Regions from separate parts of the Homo sapiens genome. Here region 2 is linked to region 1. The links are contacts of gene promoters, found by promoter capture Hi-C in human tissues and cell types (Jung and others, 2019). All regions are on one chromosome and are shown on one strand. The core of a region is centred on a gene start or on the middle of the fragment in contact, and the rest is flanking DNA. Distances in the headings are between cores, read along the strand shown. Region 1 holds the start of ZNF683 (zinc finger protein 683). Region 2 has its middle 12 kb from the start of MIR4425.

Region 1 (4,464 bases), core at 273-2,772:
CCTCCAAGTCCCATCTCAGATCTCCTGACCCTGGAAAGTTCTATCCTCTAATCTAGAGGCCCCAAGAGGCAAAAGATAATTCAAGCACATGGCCAGGTGAAGTGGCTCACATCTGTAATCCCAGCACTTCAGGAGACCAAGGCAGACCCATCTCTTGAGCCCAGGAGTTTGAGATCAGCCTGGGCAACAAAGCAAGACCTCATCTCTACAAAAAATACAAAACTTAGCTGGGCATGGTGACTTGCACCTCTGGTCCCAGCTACTCAGGAGGCTGAGGCAGGAGGATCACTTGAGCCCAGGAATATAAGGCTGCAGTGAACTAGGATATTGCCACTGCACTCTAGCCTGGGTGACAGAGAAAGACCCTGTCTCTTTAAAAAAAAAAAAAATAGACATAGCAAAATGGGTGTAAGGCATGACTAGGCCAGGTGTGGTGGCTCACATCTGTAATCCCAGCACTTTGGGAGGCTGAGGTGGGCCAACTGCTTGAGCCCAGGAGTTCAAGACCAGCATGAGCAACATGGTGAAACACCATCTCTACAAAAAATACAAAAATTAGCCAGGCATGGTAGCGCATGCCTGTTGTTCCAGCTACTCAGGAGGCTGAGGTGGGAGGATCACTTGAGCCAGGGAGGTCGAGACTGCAGTGAGCTGAGATCATGCCACTGCACTCCAGCCTGGGTGACAGAGCGAGACCCTGTCTTAAAAAAAGTTAATAAATAAGGAAAAGACATGTCTAGATACAAAAAGGGAGACCTCATAGGCCAGAAAGTGGCTTTTTAGCCTGAGCAATGTCATTATTCTTGTGAGCATGAGAAGAGGCATCACCCCTGCGGCCTTACACAAATTCTGGTGTGCGTGAGTCTGGCCCAGGGTGCAAAAGCCCCAACCAGCCATCAATCTGCACCCCAGCCACGCCACCCTGGTGTCCCAGAATATACAGGGACATCTCAGGCTGTGCACCATGGGCTGGGGCATGTTCCTGGGGTTTCTCTGCCAGCTCAGCCCCTAGGGCTGTGACTCATCCTCCACATAACTGATCCCAACATGTTTGTGAGCATCTCAAGGACAGGGTCCTCTGTCTACTCATTTTGGTTTTCCATGTAGACATCTGTCAGGTTTTTTTGGACGCCCAGCCTCTGAAACTTTTCCCCTACATGAGTCTTGAGGGAGGCAAAAGGTACCTCCCATTATAAAAGCCGAAATGGCCAAATACTTAATTCCAACCTCCCTCACCAGCACTTCATGCAGGCATACATGGACTAGGTCGATCAGATGTCCCCACCCAGAAGGGGTGACCCGCACACCTTTGGCTTCCATCTGCCAGCTCTGCCCTCTCCTGGCATCACACTCTGCTCCCAACTCTCAGAACACCTTGCACAACTTCTCTGTTAGAAAAAAATAAAAACTACTTCCCCTCTATCCGCACTTCCCAACCTACTCTGGTGATCATGGGCTTTCCTTGGCTTGGGTCTCTGGTCTGGGTCAAGGCATCTGCTCAGGTTCCTCAGTTAGAAGACCATGGTCCTCCCTTTGTGCTACCTCCCCAGGGCATGTGGGACAAAGTGACATCACATTTAGGCCTGTGACATCACAGGGCATGGAGGCTGACAAGACAGATGATCTGGGAGACGAGAGCAAGGAAGGGCTTGGCAGGCAGAGGCTGCTCCATGTGGGAACCTGAGGGAGTCTGTCTTAGCCCACCTCCTGGGACATTTCCTTGCCAAGCCGAGTCTTGTGAGCATGAGAAGAGGCATAACCCCTGTGGCCTCACACAAATTCTGGTGTGCGTGAGTCTGGCCCAGGGTACAAAAGCCCCAAGCAGCCATTAATCTCCACTGCAGCCCAGTAGACTAGCAGATCAGAAGCTAGTGCCACTGGCTGAGCGCAGTGGCTCACGCCTGTAATCCCAGGACTTTGGGAGGCCGAGGCGGGCAGATCACTTGAGGTCAGGAGTTCAAGACCAGCCTGGCCAACATGGTGGGACCCCATCTCTACAAAAATACAAAAATTAGCCAAGTGTGGTGGCACGTGCCTGTATTTCCAGCTACTTGGGAGACTGAGGCAGGAGAATTGCTTGAACCCGGGAGGCGGAGGTTGCAGTGAGCTGAGATGGCTCTGCTACACTCCAGGCTGGGCAACAGAGTGAGGCTCCATCTCAAAATAAAATAAAATACAATAAAAAAAGCCACTGGTCCTGAGGTGGCAGGTCTGTGGAAACTCCTCTCTACAACAAAGGCTGTGGTACCACATCCGGCTTCCAGGGCAGTGAAGGAAAGAAGGGGGTTCAGGGGAGGCTGCAGAATCTGTGCAGGGCTGGTCCTGGGGTGTGATATTTGGCCATGGTCCTGTCTACTTCCAGCCTCCCTTGATCCATCCTATTCTCCAAGCCTTGCTCTCCAGCCTTCTCAGACCTCCTGCGAGCTTTTCTAACATCTTTTAAACAAATTCCTTCTGCTTAACTCCTCCTGAAATGGTTTTTGTAGCTTACAACTGATAATTCTGCATTATACATGCCCAGAATAGAAGATAAAGTAACAGGGTTCCAGCTGGAATTGTCCAAGGAACAGAGTAAATAGCCACCTTTACAAACAGCTTTCTTGCTGTGTCTGGCACTGTGCTAGGGGCTTCATAAACTTTATCTCATTTAGTCTTCACAATAAGCCTGTGTGGTGGATTTTATTATTAGCAGCTCATCCAGAGTCACACAACAAGTAGCCAAGAGCTCTTTAGTGGTAAACCTCAGACTCTGCCATCTCTTGGCCATGTCAGCTTCCCCCACTACGACAGCCACCCCCTCATTTCTTTCTTTCTTGCTCTCTCTTCCCACATGCTGTTCCCAGTCCTTCCCCCAACTCCTCAGTGGCCCCCTCAGTATCCTTCAGCGTAATGGAGGGGCTTAGTTCACCAAAACTCTACTCCCTAAAAGGAAGAGCCCTCTCAGACCCCCAGGCCACAAGCCCGCCTCCCCTGCTGTCTTGCTGGGAATCACAGGGAAGTGAGGGGCACCGAGTGAAGTTTCCTCCCCTCCAAGGCACTTCCCCACACACCTTTGGCTTCCATCTGCCAGCTGTGCTCCCTCCTGGCATCACACTCTGCTCCCAGCTCTCAGAACACTTTGCACAACCTCTCTGTTAGAAAAAAATAAAAAAGGAAATGGCCTTGGAGATTTCCAGGTCTCCAATCCTGAAAGCTCCCTGGCTTGGCTAGGAAATGCCCCAGGAGGTGGGCTGAGGACAGACTCCCTCAGGTTCCCACGTGGAGAAGCCTCTGCCTGCCAAGCCCTTCCTTGCTGTCATCTCCCAGATCATCTGTCTTGTGTCATCCATGCCCTGTGATGTCACAGGCCTAAATGTGATGTCACTTTGTCCCACATGCCCTGGGGAGGTAGCACAGAGGGAGGACCATGGTCTTCTAACTGAGGAACCTGAGCAGATGCCTTGACCCAGACCAGAGACCCAAGCCAAGGAAAGCCCATGATCACCAGAGTGGGTTTGGGAAGTGCGGACAGAGGGGGAGTAGGGAGCTGACTCCAGGTGCAAGGGGCACATTCGGGAGGCCTCTGAAGAGGAGGTGCCTCCACATTAGGGGACAAGAGCTGGAGGGGCTGGGTCCTTGGGCTCCCGGTGCTCACTGCACACTTTCTTCTTCCTTTCGTTAGTTGCAAAATAATACATACTAGTGGTAAACATTTCAAACAACAGAAAATGTAAAAACGAAAAATGGAAGCTCCTCCTCCTTCGCAATTTCCCAGTGGTCAATGTGAATTGTTTAGTGTTTACCCTTCCAGACATTTTTCTATGAACCAACAAACAGGTAAATTGATTTTTTTAATTGCTTTTTTTTTTCCTAAGGAATGAAGTGACTTATTGAAAATGAAAGTACACTCTGCAGTGTGGGAGCAGGCCTGAGCATAGGGGCTCAAAGGCCCCATTACAGAGTTTTTGAGAGTTTAAATACCTTCTGCTTGTGGTACGCCCTATGTAAATGAAGAGAATGAAGTAAAGTTACAATGTCATGTACTCAGGGAGAAGCTATTTCCTGTCAGAGCTGAAGTGTGAATTGGCCTTATGTTTCCTGCCTCCAGCCCCTATTTTCCTGCCTCATCTCCCCGCTAAGAGATGTGATTGTGGTCCCCGTAAATCTTCACGGGAGGCAGAGGGACCGATGGTCTTTTTCCTGGGACTGCTTCATGCTGGCATGGGGCGTAGTCCCTACTTATTGGGGATCATGGAACCCTCACCTTGTTCTGTCTAGTGGAGGCAGGGTAGCTTCTTGATGGCCAGGGGTGGTGTCTTCACCTGGACTGGCTGGAGCCTTTGTTGCATGATCATCTGAAGCTTGATGGCCTCCTTTTGCTGGTATGCCAGGTTTCTGGGCTCTCTTTCCCTGAGCGGCCCTTCCTCCGGGCTGGCTGGCCAAAATATGTCACTGGTGGGGGGTGTCCAGGTTCTTGGCATCTTG
Region 2 (4,833 bases), core at 2,007-4,506, 1.4 Mb before region 1:
CACAGGACAGACGCCCAGTTAGTTAGAAAAACATGTGGCTTACTCTTCCCTCTCCTGCCCCCTCCAGCCACCACCACCTTCTAATTCAATTTCCCTTGAAAAACAATGGTTTCAATGAAGGGGGAAACAAGATTTTCGGAAACTTCATAAAGTTTTGCAAAATAATTACCCCCCAAACTGGCAGACTTCCTCCCCCTTTCTCCTCAAATGAACGTCTCTGGGACATTTCCATAAGCTTTATATCCCAGCTGGATGTGCCCCTGGGCTCGCCCTGAGGCTACCTACCCCAGATCAGACTCTGGGCATCTGCTGGGCATGGGGTCCCCTGGGGCCATTACCCTCTCTCCCGGTTGCCCACCTCCTCCTCTGATGAGGATTGGCCAAGAGGAGAGGACAGAGGAGGGAATGTTCCCTGAGCTGGCCATTGCAGTGCCCCGAGCTGCTCCACAGATGGGAGCTGGGAACCAGGGCGGGGAAGGAAGCCGTCTGATGGCTCAGCAGAGTGCAGTGGAGGACAGGGCCAGGTCTGCACCCTGGACCGCCGGCTCTTCTTTCCAGCTGCCTTGCCTGGAAGCTTCGGGTCAGCCTTGGGCCTGAAGCCTCGGGAGGCCTCTGGGAAATGCGTCTCTTGGTTGGTCACACTCCCAACCCTGGCTGTTGCCAGCCTGCATGGGCAAAGTGGGATCCTCCTTCCTTCCTCACTTCCCTGGGAGCCCAGGGTGGCCCAGATGCTATGTCTGGCTCTGCTGGTCTGCAGACCACCCCTCAATCAGACACACCAGCAGGCAGCCAGGCATGTCCTGACGGGCAGCCAGGGTCAAACCACCAGGAACAGAAGCTTCTCTTTGCCATGCTCTGCCCTCTCCTGATGCCCTCACCTGGGTACTTGGTGATTCCCGTGACCCTCAGCAGTGGGCAGCCTCCTGGGTCCTCCTCTCCCCACTGGCTTTCAGGGAGTCTCCCATGTGCTGCCTGAGGTGTCCCCCTTTGAATGCTCCCTCCAAGACAGTCTCCTCTGCCACTCCCCAGAAAGGCTACTGCTCAACCCACCCTCCCTACAACCTCGACACCCCTCTGCCCCAGCTCCCATCCCAAATCTCACATTTTTTCTACTGCCAGAGGTGAAGTTTGATGAACTCATTCATACTAAGGTGTGAATGATTGACCGTCTGCACTCTCCCAGAGACAGACTTTGTTGTGGGCTGAGATTCTGGGGTGGGAAAGCTACTCAGAAGACACAACCAGGTGCTACAATGAGAGACTCCAAAGCAGAGCCATCTGTCCCAGGCCCTACACTGTGTAGCAGCTGCAAGCAGGTGAATAGGAAGGAGCCTGGGCAGTGATACAGCTGAAGGCAATCCCTGCTTGCTACCGGCACCAACTCCAGCCTCTGGCTTGAGGCACCCTGAAGGTGCCCAGTGCAGGAACCAGTCTCCAAAACTGACAAGGCCCTTAACCACCTCCCTTAGGAAGTCCCCACCCACACTGGGCAGGGCTGACTTCTGTAGGCAATAGGCTACTGCAGAAATGAATGAGTGTGACTTCTGAGGCTAGGTCATTAAAGGCATACTACTTTTCTGCTTTACTTCTCTCTGGGATCGATCACTTGCTCTGAGAGAAGCTGGCTGCCATGCTGTGAGGACATTCAAGCAACCCATGGAGAGGCCCACATGGCAAGGCCAGCCAACAGTTTGCACCACCTTGCCAGCTGTGTGAGTGCACCACCTTGGGTGCAGGTCTGCCAGCCCCAGTCAAGACTTCAGATGAGTGTAGTCCAAGCTGACACATGATCGCAGCCTCCTGAGAGACCCTGAGCAAGAAATGCCCAGCTGAGCTGCTCTCGAATTCCTGGCCTGCAGAAATTGCAACATAATAAATGTTTATTGTTTTAAGCCAGCAGGTTTTGGGGTAATCTTTTACACAGCAAAAGATAACATGCCAGCCAGCCCCTCCACCACCAGAACTCTCCTGCAGCCTCTCACTGCAGCCATTTGCTCCAGCTTTGTTAAGAAAAATTACCCAAAACTTGGAAATAGGCAAAGACAGGGCAGCAGGTCTTTTCAATGTCATATTGGGGTGTTGTTTAGCAGGCCCACTAAGGGTATCTGCTATGGTCTGAATGTTTGTGTCTTTGCAAAATTCATATGTTGAAATTTAATCACCAATGGGATGGGGTTAGGAGGAAGGGCCTTTAGGAGGTCATTGAATCATGAGTGTGGAGTCCTCATGAATAGAATTAGTGTCTTTATAAAAGAGGCCCCAGAAAGCTGCCTTGCCCCTTCCACCAAGTGAAGACACAGCGGGAAGGCACCATCTATGAGAACACGGGCCCTCACCAGACGCCTTGATCTTGGATTTCCCAGCCTCCAGAACCGTGAGAAATAAATATCTGTGGTTTATGCATTACCCAGTTTATGGTATTTTGTTATAGCTCCCCAAACAGACTAAGATAGTATTTAATTATCTAGAGGAAGGTACCTTTGACTTAGTATGAGCCATTAGAAGACCAGACTTTAGAAGTTATATGTTAATATATAGATTTCTGTCCAGTAGAAAATGCCCCAAAAGTTACGGACTTCTGGCCCATCAGGACATTAACCAGTTTTGTATCTCACTGAGCCATTGTATTCCAGTATTCTTTTCCCAGTATTCTGTAGTGCTATTCCTCTACTTCTCCTTTGAATCAGCTTTATCTTCTTACTGGTTCCCTCATTCAGGAGTTAAACAAATTTTGACATGTGTTCAACCTATATTTGAATGAGAGTTATGCTTTTACTCTATTTTTTTTGAAATTATACTTTGACAGCTTACGTGTGCCCCGGAAATAGGGAACTCACTACCTATCAAGGAACTTGGGGATCTTAGAACAGCTCCTAAAACAGGCTTAGGGCTTCTTCCTTATTCTCATAGCTGCACCCTCTGTCCCTGGTTCTCCCTTTGAGAAAACCTCAGGAAGTGAGCCGAACCCCTAATTCCCACAGCAGCTCATCAAATTTGGTAATTTCCTATCGCTTTGCACTCTAGACTACATATTTTGTGTTCAGAAAAAGAAGTCATTAAATAAATAATAAAAATTGAGATCTAAATTTTACTTCCATGAGTTGAAGAAGAATGGATCCGAGAAAAGAGCCATTTATTGATGCTGCTGTGTACAGGCCTGTGCAGTTCGAAGAACTGGAGATTGGCAGGGGTCCACTCTGACCCTCCACCCATTCCCTTCTCCCCATGCTCTAGGGGGATCTCGGATGAAATCTTTAGCCCCCGTCCCTAATCCCCTTCATGGCCTCTGGCTCTTGGAATAAAGGTCAGATCCCTGCTACAATGTCCTCTGTGGCCTGGCCCTGCCCCCCTCCTTCTTGTCTCACACCGAGCTCCCCGTCAGCATCTTCATTCCATTGGCACTCTCACTCCCTCAGGTTCACGAGGATCCCTTGCACTGCCTGACCTTTGCTTACGCCGTTCTAGCTCCCCATGGCAGTGCACCCTTCATCTGTAGGAGCACTTCCCCTCGCCTTGATCATTCTCTGTCCCCAGGGAGGTTCTCCAAGCGCCTATTCTCCATCACTCCCGCCCCCCACTCCCACACTCATTAGGTGGTAATTTGACCTTTGCTTGTGGGATGATTTGATAGTGCTGGCTTCCCTTGCTGGGTTGCAGGTCACAGAGGGACAGGGACTGCTTCTGCCTTGTCCTACCTTTTGTCTCCAGGATTCGCAGTAGGCGCAAGTGAGAAGTGGACACTCAGAGCCCTGGAGTCCAGGGCCTGGCACCAAGGAAGCAGCAGGGGGAGTTTGCTGAGCAAACAAATAAAGATTTCATCACAAGTTGGGGCAGAACAGGAGGCTGATACCTACGTCCTGGGCTCCAGGGCTGGCGCTCCTCCCACAGCCCTGTGCATGGAGCGCCCAGTGAGGGCCAGATTGTTTCCTGTCACTCTGAATGGAAATGACATGGCCTCTGTGCACCCCCATGAGCTGTGTCTCAGATTATGTGAAGTACAATAAAAATGCCCTGTTTTTTTCTCTAAAGAGAGCAACTTACTAGCCACAAGAGACGTCTTGACACCCACTCACACCCAGCTCAGAGAGTTTTCTTTATTTAAAAAATATATATCACAACATAGGTAAAAACAGAGAATGTGTTGAAGTGTGGTGATTACAAAGTGGAAGCCTCCTGCCATTCCACTCCCAAAGTAACCACTGCTGACCATCCCGCATATACTATCTTCCCATGAAAGATTTTTCCCATGAAAAATTCCCCACGTGAATTTCCACAGTCCACTCTTTCCTGGGGCCTGCTCTGGGCCGGGCTACTTGATATATTAAGCATCAAAGTACCCCTAAGGGAGGTACTTGATTTTTATCCCCATTTCATGGATGGGGAAACTGGAATACACAGAGAGGTTGAGTCGGTTGCCCAAGGTCCTACAGCCGGTAAGTGGCAGAGCTGGGATTTGAACCCGGGCAGCAGGTTCAAGAGTCTAGATGTCAGATCCTCTTGGTTTCATGCAGGTATCTACACTTGAGGTGGATGGCACAGCTGTTCAAGGGTGGGGGTCTGGACTTTGACGGTGACTCTGCTCCTTCCTAGCTTTGTGACCTTGGGCAATTGACTAGACCTCTCTGTTCCTTGGCGTCTTCATCTGTAAAATGGGGATGTGGTAGTCCTGCTTTCTGGATAGTTGTGTTAGTGGGCAGGAAGTGCCTGGAACAGAGGTGGAGAGGCAGTAGATGCTCAGTCACCTGGAGTCATGTGTCAGGTGACACGTCACAGTCACCAGTGCTACCCACACCAGGCCTGAGGCGTTCTCTGGACCTGAAGACCCACACCTCC

The links. Contacts are between HindIII fragments. The study calls those that stand out against the background at their distance.
Region 2: a contact is called between a fragment that was not itself captured here and the fragment with the promoter of ZNF683 in region 1, in 1 of the 25 tissues and cell types used here (aorta).

What each region holds. Positions count from the first base shown.
Region 1 is chr1:26,371,228-26,375,691 of GRCh38, forward strand. ZNF683 (zinc finger protein 683) reads right to left here and starts at 1,523. Exons shown (of 6, transcript NM_001114759.3): 1 at 1,442-1,523. The HindIII fragment of the contact is 13,714 bases long and covers 1-4,464 here.
Region 2 is chr1:25,008,595-25,013,427 of GRCh38, forward strand. No RefSeq gene overlaps it. Among named protein-coding and RNA genes, the nearest start is that of MIR4425, 12 kb to the right of the region's middle. The HindIII fragment of the contact is 7,313 bases long and covers 1-4,833 here.